Linked DNA regions of Homo sapiens: region 1 is linked to region 2. Evidence: promoter capture Hi-C in 16 types of primary human blood cells and fetal thymus (Javierre and others, 2016). All regions are on one chromosome and are shown on one strand. The core of a region is centred on a gene start or on the middle of the fragment in contact, and the rest is flanking DNA. Distances in the headings are between cores, read along the strand shown.

Region 1 (6,703 bases), core at 1,718-4,217, 570 kb after region 2:
CAGCCAAAGCCTGAAATGTCTGTGCAATATTTAATGACTCTGTCAAACTAAACCTAAACATGATCAACAAGAGAGAGGCAGATCTCATGCTGAAACACAAAGTGAGCTTTTCAGACCAAAACAAGGAAAAGTTTTTAAAAAAGAAAAAAATTGAAAGAAATCTCTAGAAATCAAGGGTACATGTCCAAAGAAACCATGGTTCCAATTATAAAGAACGGAAAAAAGGAGCTGTATCTGAATGCAAGCTGACTCCTGTCCCCATCACCACCCTAAAACACTGAGGGTGCCAATTTGCCTGTGTAAAGTATTGTAGGCACAGAAAAATACTGGATGAAAAATATTAGCTTTGCAGATAGCATTGCTAAATTCCAAATATCTGGAAACCTTAACTTGAACTGAGGAAGTAAAATGCAAAACTTTGATATAAGAGGAATAAAAGCCTTTTCAAGTAGTGAAAGAAAAACATTTTAACTTGAAAGATTTCTTTTAAAAGCAACCAGAAGGCAGAACATCAAGATCCAACTCAAGTACTTTCTACATAATGGTACTAAATATATTGCTAAATCAAATGTACCTAGAAGCAGGAGAGCAGTTCTTTCAAAATCCCCAAAGCACTAAAAAATTTTAAAGTAAAATTTCACAAGGTTTGGAAAAACTAATCATATTCCCTATGTAAATTTTGATTGAGGATGCTTCAAGTCTACGTATAATCTGATAAATTGTTGGTGTTGCTATTGAGTATTCCTGCTTTTTAACAACGGATTCTTTCCTTCATCTATTTAGACACACAGTGAATAAATATTTATTGAACATCTACATGCAAAACAACCTGCTAGGACAAAAAGATAGTGGTTTTAAAGAAAAGAAATACAGTTGCCTTTATGGAGCTTATAATCAGGTAAGGGACTGAGGTAAAATTAGAATTAGGTGTTCTTACCATTAACATTTCACTATAAAGCACGTACTCATGTACAACAGGAAGCAGGGCCTCTGAGAGTCCAGACATCCGCTTTTCAGTGGCCTTACAGCATCTGTCAATGCAGCTGGCAACATCCTTTAGAGTATCAACCAGATCCTCTTCTGACGCTGACCACAGAATATGAATTGGGCCATATTCTTTCATTTCATCAAAATATTCTAAAAAAAAAAAAAGACTTAATAAGCTCTTCAATAAACAAAAGTTTTCAAAATACCTGTATCCTAGAGAGTAAGAAAGGGCCTTATTTCTCTCACAGTGCACATGTTCTTACACAAGAACATAAGAAAACGGATATCATCCTTCATTAAATCAACCAGCCATCACAGTTTGCCCCAGGTCAGTCTTTGAATGACTACTGTCCAAGTGTAATCAATAATAACATACCTTTTCAGTGTCAAAAATGTCTTGGCTTGAAAAATAAATTATATGACCATCATATCTATTTAGGCTTCTGCCTACCACACAACTATATCTGAGTACCTGACAGGCAACATGCCCTGAAAAAAACTTAGCATCTTCTTTCTCCCCTTCTTCTGACTATATATTCTACTTAGTGGTAATTACTATCCATAAATCTAAGCAAAAAATTGGGAGGTTATCCTAGAATCATACTTACACAGAGCCAGTAAATCACCAATTCCAAAACTTCGAGATCTTAAACTATCCATCTACCTATGTACTTATCTTCACTTCCACCACCATCAGCATCTCTAATCTGTACTGCTTCAAGGGTCTCCTAACTATTCTCCCTCTATTTTTATCAGAGTATAGAAACATTGACTCTTTGTAGCTAAATTAGAATTAGTTAAATTAAATTAGTTAAATTAGTCCTCACCGTCTGCTTCTCCAGGTCCAATGTGAAATTCTCTGCCAAAGATTTTAACTCAAGCCAAATTGCTTGTTCATTCATGAATAACCCATGATTTCTCTTTACAAAAACATTTGCACATGTCCCTCTGCCTTGTCCTCCATTTCTATCACCTGACAAACTACTTCTAATCCTTTAAATTCCAGTTCAAATAAATCTCCTCTGATTCTGTTCCAAAGGATTCATAGATGCTTTGGCCCTCAATGAGCTTATCATAATTTTATACTTCTATTAAAGCATTATCCCACTGTATTATAGATGTCTTATAACTCAAATGCTCTTGGCCACATACTCCTTAAAACAGGGACTGAGTCTTATTATTTTTCTATCTCAAACCCTTATATGTAATGAGTTCAATAAATATTTTCATATCAATGAAAGAATGCATACATGAGTAACCAAAGACCATTCAGTGTTTGATACGCTATGTATTCAAAAATTTTTGGATTTCATTTTAAAATGTGACTGTCTTTACAATTTTACATTCTTACTTTCACACTTAATTTTCAATGATGTATAGCTTTTTGTGGTGGAAAATTTATAAGCAGTGACCGTTTTTTGTTCACTATCCATATAAATACAATCAAATTATCTATATTTAACCATCTTACAACTCATTAGGGTTTGCTGATATCTGTCATATTTCTCTAAACTACTAAAACTTTAAAAGTCTGTATTAAATAAAAAGTTTAAAAATATGAAATTTAAAAACAATGGAGATACTAGTTGTTATGTAATGAACATTTAATCACCTCTGTAGTCCTTCCAAACTCCACCTTCCTGATCCTAGGCCTGTCTTTATGTTAAATAATGACCATACTGAACTAATTTCTGGAAAAGAAAATTTTCCACTTTCTTTTCTCAATTGAGTCAATTGAGAAATCTCAAATTTCTCATTTTCTCAATATATGTCAATGTCAGTCATTAAACCTGAACAATATTTATGTTTATATGCAAAGCTGCCCTAAAATTCTAAACTGTGCTTACATACCACTCAAATCAATCTGTATGCAAACATTTAGTTAGCTGCACTGTAATTTATCTGTTAATATACATATTTCCCAACTAGACTGTGAGCTTAACAGGTACCATCTTAATTACTCTTTGATACTCATTGATAGTTTATAAAGCTCTTAACTACCAATAGTTTCCAGACATCTCTTTGAATTGCCATACCACCTAACTATGCATCCAGAATCTACTTAATAGAACTGGAATCACAGAACCTAGTTAAAATAATTCACTTATTCAGGTTAAAAAAAAAAGACAAATAATAAATGTAAGGGCAAACCAAAGAGGTTTAAAATAAATTATTATACTACATTCAGTCACTACAGTAATCTCATCAGGGGTCAATGCATGAAAAAAAGTTAGAAAAGGGGCAAAGTACATGCAGTTATAATTTTTTTCTATATCTCTTTTTAAAACCAATCAATTCTTAATAAAGCACCTTTTCCTACACCATTCCAAATCTTATGTTCATTCGTGGTTTTTTTTCAATCACTGAACAAATTTTAATTAAGTACTTATTATGTTTAAACACTGCCCGGATACTAGAAATAAGATATTTCCCAGCTTATCCTGACTGGCAGTACAGTTAAGTAGAGGTCAATTAACAAATAAGCCATCAACTTAGGAACTTTTGTTTGTCTTTATGTAGTTCCTCATCTCTAATAACAAATTATATTAGGAAATTATTTGCTGACTCAGTTATCTATTTTTTAATGTAAGTAAATGCAATTAGAAAATTAGGGGAAAAAATCATCACGTGATTAGAATTAGAAAAAAATTCACCAACAATTCTGATTTATAAACTAAAAAAAAAAAAGAAAATAGGAAAAGAGGCAGATTTTCCAATACGTAAATCTCTCTGCCATACTTCGACAGGTTTAATACAGAGTATCTGTTCCCTCCAGAAAAAAATAATTACCAGAAAATATGAAAACCCTATTTCCTGAAACATCACTTCTTTGATTCTGAGCTCTGTTCCATGTTGAATACAAACAACCACATCCACAATCTTTAACTCGGGCTTACTTTACCACTATTATCTATGAATGGGAAGTAGAGCAGCTAGTGATTGATAAAAGTGAAAATGGAGACTGGCCATAACTACCTTCGAAATCATTTAGGAATCAGAAATGTCCATAAGATGGCTAGGAATAAGCCACACTTTGAAGCTGACATTCTAACTGAATGTTGCTATATTACACCAACAAATGTGAAGATTCATCAGAAACTGAACAACTTTGAAATCACATTTCAGTAATTCTACTTACCCCTTTCTTCCTTATAAATTCTCTGAGATATTTTATCTATCAAATTTATTTTCTGGCTAAATAGTTCAATAAAGTTATTCATTTCCATGAACTCCTCTGGGCGGTTTTTAACTCCTCTCATTGAGGACGCAACAGCTCTGACGGTTTGCCCCATCCTGCTTAGCAAGCCAGGACCTTGCTTCTTGTGAGAAGAGAGTTCCTAGAAACAAAAAACCAAGTATTTCTAGTGAAACAAGTCTCAATATTCCGAGACTCAATACAAAAATAAACCTAATTAGGAGAATAAAATCAAGATAAAATGGTTTCATAGGCATCAATCTTTTTTAATGTTAGCTTGAAGCAGATGAGCTTTATTAAGGTACAGTGTTTCCTCTAAGTGGCAGCCTCAATAATATTCCCTTTCACACTACTCATGTAAAACAGGTATATAGTCTTTCCTCAGACCGTAAATCTTTAAAAGAACAGGGTTTAACCGACAGAATAGTGCTCAATGAGATACTAGAGGAGATAAGGATAATATGACATACCATCTATATTTTATAATAGGAATTTAATGGAAAATGATTGAGAGAAGATTTCTCAGGGCCTAAGTTATACTCCAAAAAATAAAATTGGAAAACTTCATTAATTCTTTAGATGTAATAGTAGCTAACATTTATTTAGAGCTTAATACATTCTGGGCACTATACTGACATTTTAATACACGTAATTCACCATAAACCTATGAGGTAGGTTTTATTATTTTCCTCATTTTACAGAAGAAAATAGAGGCACAGGAAAGTTAACTAACTTGCTCAAGATCCCAGAGCAGGCCGGGTGCAGTGGCTCACGTCCGTAATCCCAGTACTTTGGGAGGCCGAGGAGGGCATACATGAGGTCAGGAGATCGAGACTACCCTGGCTAACACGGTGAAACTCCCTCTCTACTAAAAATACAAAAAAATTAGCCTGGCGTGGTGGCAGGTGCCTGTAGTCCCAGCTACTTGGGAGGCTGAGGCAGGAGAATGGCGTGAACCCAGGAGGCAGAGGTTGCAGTGAGCCGAGATCATGCCACTGCACTCCAGCCTGAGCCACAGAGCGAGACTCCATCTCAAAAAAAAAAAAAAAAAAAAAAAAAAAAATCCCAGAGCAATTAAGTGGTAGAGCAAGAACTGGAATCCTGGAAGTCTGATTCCAGAGGCTTCATTATTAAGCACCAACTTGCTCTGCCCGCTTAAAGTCATTAGGATGGTTTGTAAATAGATACTACCTGAACATAGCACTTCAGCCAAATGAAGTGGGTAAACAGTGACACCACCTTCACCAACTGGCTGTCTACAGAGAAAACTTTTTTTTTTTTTTTTTTTTTGAGACGGAGTCTCGCTCTTTCGCCCAGGCTGGACTGCAGTGGCACAATCCTGGCTCACTGCAAGCTCCGCCTCCCGGGTTCATGCCATTCTCCTGCCTCAGCCTCCTGAGTAGCTGGGATTACAGGTGCCCACCACCGCGCCCGGCTAATTTTTTGTATTTTTAGTAGAGACGGGGTTTCACCGTGTTAGCCAAGATGGTCTCGATCTCCTGACCTTGTGATCCGCCCGCCTCGGCCTCCCAAAGTGCTGGGATTACAGGCGTGAGCCACCGCGCCCAGCTGAGAAAACTTGTAATAAGATACGAAACTAGTTATTTCATACTTAACCTAGGAGGGACGACTATAGACTTGCAAAATAGAAAACATCCTATAAAAGAATATACTGCACAGAAACATATCCCTTGAGAAGTATGGCATAAGTTAAAAGAACAAATACAAACAAAAAAGGACAAGGGATTTTAATAATCATTGTGGCCCTTGTTGAGACACAAGCTTGGGATCGAATAAAATATATGATCAAATAAAATACTGCTGACTACCTAATTTACAGATAAAAATATTATATATTATTTACCCAAATATTAAATAACACATTGTCTATCTTCCTTCAGGTTTTCATTCCTGAATATCTTGCAGAATACATACAAAGTAAACTTGTTTATTTCCAATTCTGTGTGATTTCTTTTGTGCCAATAATAACAGATGCCATCCTTGACCAGGCAATACATCCATCCAAGAGTGCTACAGCCTCATTTGATAGAGTAAACATTATCAGAGACAGCTCACGTCACAACTGGCAAGCTGTTACTGAAACTGTTGACTGTAGAAAATATTTCTAACAGCTTCTAAGGTTCTGAAGTCAGGCCGCATATTCATTTCACATAAGTCACAAAGGGCTTCCATAGAGGACTATCTGTCAAGATTGAAATGAACCACTTTTTAGCTTCTACCACTGGCAACAACTGAGAGATATAAAACTCAACATTTGCCAGTAACTGTTTAATATTGACCCTTTGTCCTGTCTGGTATCTTTCTTGCAGAGTTATAGCTTTATAGAATAAAAGAAAAAACAAGTAGAATGGATAAGGTTTCTGTATTAGAAATTAGACACTCCCCCACTTAGATAATTAAAGGAAAAGTAAGGAGATTATATTATCTATCTGTCCGTCCATCCATCCATCCATCCATCCATCCATCTCCATTCATCCATCTACCCATTTAATAAGGACT
Region 2 (6,395 bases), core at 401-2,900:
CCTTCACCATTTTCATCATGGAATCTTCTGCTACCTACATTTTTCTTGAGAAAGCTCTTTATTATCTTTCAACAAAAATTACCTAAACCATGTTCCCAAAAATCTCTTGTGAAAAGAGAAAGGATAATAAATGGATTCATTATTTTAAATACATAGATTTTTTTTTCTTCTTTTCTATGGTTCATGAATGCAGGGGTCACCCATCATTTCTCTGAAAGTTATGCAAGTCACATACATCTTTCTTGAAACTGAAATTATTTAAAAAATCTATGACACTTCTACAAAACTTCCAAATATATTGTTACCTATAAGAACAGTCCGACAATGTCTCTTCTCCCAAGTTTCAAGGCAGTGACTATTCCTCAGGACAGATAAGCCTTACAATCATTGAATACAGAATCTACTGTTTGCACTTCGAAGGGCTAAACCTCCATATTTGGCTGAAAAGATGGCCAGAGAAGGATATTTATGATTCAGCAACAGTCTTATAATTCTCTATGCAACCCAGACTCTAACTAAACAGAATATAGTTTTGTGCCTAAAACCATCTGATTTCCCTAAATCTATGCAATACAACCCTTCAGTATCTGTAATTTAATAAACCTCTTGCTTAAAAATGTCTTCCTAATGCAATGGAGCACAGTACACGGAATCACTGTATCTGCCAATCTTTATAACACTCCTATGAATTGTTTCTCCCTCAAATACTGCATTTTGGTAAGTTAGAGGGTCATTACGGATACATCTGCATTTAATTGTTTATCTATAATACTGCTCAGCACAGTAAATACTCAGATACAAATCATGTAAAATCAGATGATGTCATAGATTTAAAATATTATATATAGTTATGTATACACACATATATAATATGTATTTTTTACTGTGGAAAGAGGCCAGTACATTGATGATTGATGTTTAGAGATGCAGATCCAATTTCAGAAGCGTATGTGAGCACCAAAATAATATAATAGGAGAAGGATTTGGGGGGGGGGGGCAGGAGCAATAAAAGCAATTAACAATATTTGTACTATGTAAACACCTTCAACCCTCATATGCCCTAGGCATAGCTGTGTGCACACGGAGTTCCCGACACGTACTCGGCAGGTTGAAGACACAAATCCCGAAATATGGGCATCATGGCCCCTCTGGGGCACTAGCGGACGTTGTGCACACAGGCACTACAGGAGGGCCAAGGAACTAAAACCACACTCACTCACACAGGTATCCGTTCCCTGCAGGCCACCCAGCAGCGACACCTCTAATGGTAATCACCCCGGGCTGACAGGTATTCACAGGCACATTCGGGGAGCTGCTGTGAAATCTAGGGGAAGAGGGGAGGGTCGGGCATTTGGGGACAGCCGCGCGCGCCCGGCAGGATCTCTGCGCCTCCAACACTGTCCAGGACCTGAATTCGCTCAGGAGATGCCCAGAGGATCTGCATTATGCCAAGGCACTGGGCCAACTCACCTCGACGAAATAAAAGCAGGGCAGGAGGGTGACGCTGTCCTTGATCACTTTGCCCTTTGGCCTCTCCTTCGCCGACATCCCTGCCGCCTGCCCGGGTCTGCGTCCTCCCCCGGGCGAGGTGTGCACAGCGCAGCTGAGGCGAGCTGCCTCCTCCAGCCCCAAGCGCCCGGCGCCGCTGATGTCACATTCCCCGCGGCCACCGCTGGAGCCAGCGCGCTGCATGCAGCGCCCCCGCCTTCTCCCCGCCCCTTTTTGCAGCAACCCAGCTATTCCCTGAGCGGGCCAGTCCTCTTCCTCCCCTAGTCTGGCTCCTGCTCCCCGTTTTTCTGGCGAGAGACGACGTCCAGCTCCCTCCTCCAAGCTGTTGCTGCAATGGCTTCCCCTCCCTGTCACCCTCCCTCAGCTCTCTACCGCCCTTGCGACGCTCCAAGGCTGTCGGAGCTTGACGTCAAGAATCCGAAAAGGAGGACGCACTCCTGGTTTCTGCAGTAGTTAGGCTGAGGAGCTAAGCCACCTAGTCTCCTCCTGGGGAGCCTCCTAGGTCACTCTAGGAATGCTATTAAAGAATGCTAAGGATCAGAAGCCCTGCTCCAGCGCGCTGACCCATAGCAAGAAAACCAACCCCTACCTCCACGAAATGAGATCTTGGATCCCATACTGAAAAGTAGGCTGAGGTAGGCATTAACTGACAGCTTGTTGCTACCCAGGAATGACAGCTCCTACGGGGGATTCTCTGCCTAGGAGACTCCTTATCTCCCTTCCATATCGAAGCACCCACTAACAAACACTACCGGTTGTGTGGGAATGATGTGGGTTCCTTGCATCCAGAGAGGCAGATGTGTGAATGCACAGGTAATGGGCATCCTCATTGAGCCCAGAGGCTACTGTATGTTCTAATCTCACTGTCACACCCCCAGAACAGTGTCAGTATTGCAATCATAACAGTAAAAAGAAGTATGTCTTCAGATATTAATAATCTAAAGTCCTTCATCTTGTTGGCAGTATACATGGCTAGTCTCAATTTTGTGATTACTTTGGCAACCAGAAGTATCAAGTTGATATAGAAGAGAGAAAGACCCAGCAAACACGAGACATGATATTATACTAATAAAGATGACCTAATTTTGTGATCACATGTCCCAGGCCATTTCCAATATCTCCAAGTCTCCATTTCAAGCATGTGATGGCCAATTCCCAACTCATTTATCCATTTCCCTTTTTTAGTTGCTCCTCCAATAGGTCTTTGGCAGTATGGGACCATCCTATCTAATAATATACTCATTTCACTGCCAACACCACCTCTTGCCCCCACTTTCTTCTGCCAGGCTTGGGTTCCAAAGTCTAGCAATATAATTGCTTGTTTCCGCCTCCCAATTTGCCATACTCACCTGATAATATCCCGGCTTAGTTGAACCCAATTCTCTGCCCTTACCAGAGCAACTGAAAGTGGCTGGAGAAAAACACACAACCGCATGATGCTGTCTCACATCCAACTCATGACCACAAACTCCAAGTAGGTCCTGGAGTTGCCCCCACGATTCTATAATTTTTTCTGTCCAGCCATTTTCCCATTCACAACTTCTCACTTCTCAAATCTCCTCATTCTCAGTTCATGACATTAACTCTTATTTCACTTAGAAAATAGAAGTAATCAGAAGAGAACTACATCTTCTTCCTAAACTCAGTGCTTGCCCTCACCCCCCACCACACACAGCGACCGCCATCTCTTGCCTAGACTGGAATAACCTAACGGCCTTCTAACTGTTCTACCAGCTTTTGCATTTGCCATTCCCACAACCTACAAACCATTCCCTACGCAGCAGCCAGAAAGGTCCTTTGGAAAGTAAACCCAATTGTTTTATTCCCCTACCCAAACCCTCCAAGAGCTCTCTTCCACTTCAATGGAAAGTCCAAACTTCCCGTCTCTTCCTTAAAGCCCTGCCTGGCCACCTTGCCTGGTTCTAGGACCTCATTCACATCACTTTGCACCTCAATGGTCTGGCCGTTCCAGCCTAGCCTTTCACTGCCTCAGGAGCTTTGTACTTACTGTTCCTTTGTCCAAGAACTCTGTTCCGCCAAAATTGCATGGCTTAACCCCTCATTTAATTCATATCTCTGCACAAATTTTAACTCCTCAGGGAAGTTGTGTTTGATGCACCGAGTAGATTCATAATCTCAGACCTCTGTTACTCTTTATTCTTTTATACTATTTTATTTTCCTTCATAGAATTTGTCACCATTTGATAGTATATCAAGTATTTCTGTGTCCTTTTTTATCTTGTCTGCCTCACCCACTAGTGAACTCTGTAAAGTCAAGCACATTTTCATTATTATGTTTTCTGGTAACTACAAGTGTGCCTGGCAAAGAGTAGGTTGTCAGTACATAGTGAAGAAATAAATGGAACAATAAAATTAAGTGATGCTTATATAACCGTATAGCATAGTTTTTCACATAGTATATGTTCATTAAGTGCTTGTTGATTCTGTTTAACTATTACATTAATCAGTAGTTATACTTTTCATTACTACCAATGTTACTTTGTCTTGTGGAGGGGGTGGGTACTGGAGCCCTTTCTTTTTTCAACCTTCTTGGTACCTCAAGAAAATTTACAATTTTTGGTGAGGTAAAAAATAAGCTAGAACATATTAAACTTAAGAGAGATGTTATCATCCTGGAAACTCAGTGTTTTTATTTGAGAAGAGGTGAAATATAAGACTAAACCTATACCCACCTAATTTCAATAGCAAAAAAACCTGAAGGTATGTGATAAAATATCAGAGATGTATGCTGACCATACATCAACAATTCAACAAATTGTCAAAACATCAGAAAGGTACTCTTTTTTTCCTCCCTAGCTGGTCTGCCCAGATTGACCTGCTCACATTGTCAAGGATCAGGAAATGTTTCAGAATTCAAAGCCAATACTTATTGTAAATCCTTTATCTTTCATTAGGTCAGATTCTCCTTCCTTCTGTCTCTCTTCTTTTGAATTTTATTTTTCTAATATATAGCATTTCATAAAACAATCAAGCTAAAGATTCCCTTAAATACTAAACACCATAGTAATGTCTTACATTGGGGTAACAGTTTGATATATATTACCTACTTTCACTTTTGGTACTCAAAACAATGCAATGAAGTGAACAGGGCAAATGATTTCCCTATTTTATAAAAAAAATCAGTAGACAGAACTCAGAGATAGAATAAATAAATAGAAAAATTTGAACCAAAACAGAATAAAATTTGGAGTCAGAAGACATGAACTTGAGCTCAGGATTTGTAATGTTTGAACTCTGCTCATAAGCAAATCACTTAGTATCTCCAAGCTTTAGTTTTCTATTATGTAAAATGAGAAGAGTACTGGTACTATCTGACAACAATGCCTGGTAGCTTAATTGTGACGATATATGTGAAAGCACTTGGTGAAATGTAAAACTGACTCATCCATTCATCAGTCCATCCATTCAACCTACAAGTATTTATTGATCCCCGGCTATGTGAGAGGCATATTTCTCACAAGACACCCACTGGAGAAAAGAGTATATATGCTTGTTGCCTTCATAGAATTCACAGGCTAATGTAGGTGAAGAGAAGACAGACACAGACAATAAATTAGTAATAGTAATAGAAAACACCTCCATGAAGCTCACTATGGAATAAGCATCATTAACAATACTTTGCATCTTACCTCACGTACTCACAAGATCCTTATGAAATTAGTATCATTATTATCACATTTTATAGTTAAAAAACTGAGACTCAGGGGGTAAACTATGATTTTATGGAAGGACCACAGATATAATTAGTAGGGCTGAGACTGTTGAACTCAGTAGGTTGCTGCAGGCTATGTGATCTTAAGGGCTACACCTACTGCCTCTCTTTACAAACATATAATTATATCTTGTGATATAGACTACTAAACAAACAATTAAGGTGCAGTTGTAATCACAATGAGAAACTTCTTAAGAATGGTGGTTGTGGCACTATTCACAATAGCAAAGACTTGGAACCAACCCAAATGTCCATCAGTAAAGAAAATGTGGAACATTTACACCATGGAGTACTATGCAGTCATAAAAAAGGATAAGTTCATGTCCTTTGCAGGGACATGGATGAAGCTGAAAACCATCATTCTCAGCAAACTATCACAAGAACAGAAAACCAAACACTGTGCATGTTCTCACTCATAAGTGGGAATTGAACAATGAGAACACATCGACATAGGGAGGGGAATATCACACACCGGGGCCTATCGGGGGTGAGGGGCTAGGGGTGGGATAACATTAGGAGAAATAGCTAATGTAGGTGACGGGTTGATGGGTGCAGCAAACCACCATGGCACATGTATACCTATGTAATAAAACTGCATGTTCTGCACATGTACCCCAGAACTTAAAGTATAATAAAATAATAATAACAATAATAATAAAAAGAAAAAGAAAGGTAGTCAAGGAAGTCCATGAGAGGAGTTGACATTCAAACCATTTACAGCACAGAGGCTACTAGAGAACACTCCAAAACTAAAAAATATGTTTCATCCCATCTTTACCACATAAATTCACATTGAAGCCAAGTGCAAAACTTTTATATTGAATGTTGCTTCATGTATGCTAGTTGCAGCCCTACATTATAATAGTGACATTAAAAACAATATAATGTGCCTCACAGAACTTGAACATTTTCAATGGAAATCCTGTTTCAGTGCATTCGAATGAAAAATGGCACCCACTGAAAAAGCAGCCCTCTGACATTTTGCGAGACAGAGTACTTCATAGCACAAATAACCTGGAAAAAATATGCCTGAAAATGCATTTGACACTATTATTTAAAGTGTCAGACTTCTCAGGTAAGAAAGAAGTCGTTTTTCTCTATATTGGATTTGTGTGCCCATAGCCAAATGCAAACTGCTTTTCTGTTTCCTGGC

The links. The method cuts DNA at HindIII sites, captures the fragments that hold promoters and counts their contacts. A CHiCAGO score of 5 or more calls a contact.
Region 1: a contact is called between a fragment that was not itself captured here and the fragment with the promoter of PLPPR4 in region 2, in 1 of 17 cell types (naive CD8 T cells). The highest score is 5.1, in naive CD8 T cells.

Annotation. Positions count from the first base shown.
Region 1 is chr1:98,693,140-98,699,842 of GRCh38, reverse strand. SNX7 (sorting nexin 7) reads right to left here. Exons shown (of 9, transcript NM_015976.5): 5 at 4,127-4,325; 6 at 938-1,137. Among named protein-coding and RNA genes, the nearest start is that of SNX7, 35 kb to the right of the region's middle. The HindIII fragment of the contact is 6,000 bases long and covers 1-5,967 here.
Region 2 is chr1:99,259,747-99,266,141 of GRCh38, reverse strand. PLPPR4 (phospholipid phosphatase related 4) reads right to left here and starts at 1,650. Exons shown (of 7, transcript NM_014839.5): 1 at 1,471-1,650. The coding sequence starts at 1,548. The HindIII fragment of the contact is 14,890 bases long and covers 1-4,799 here.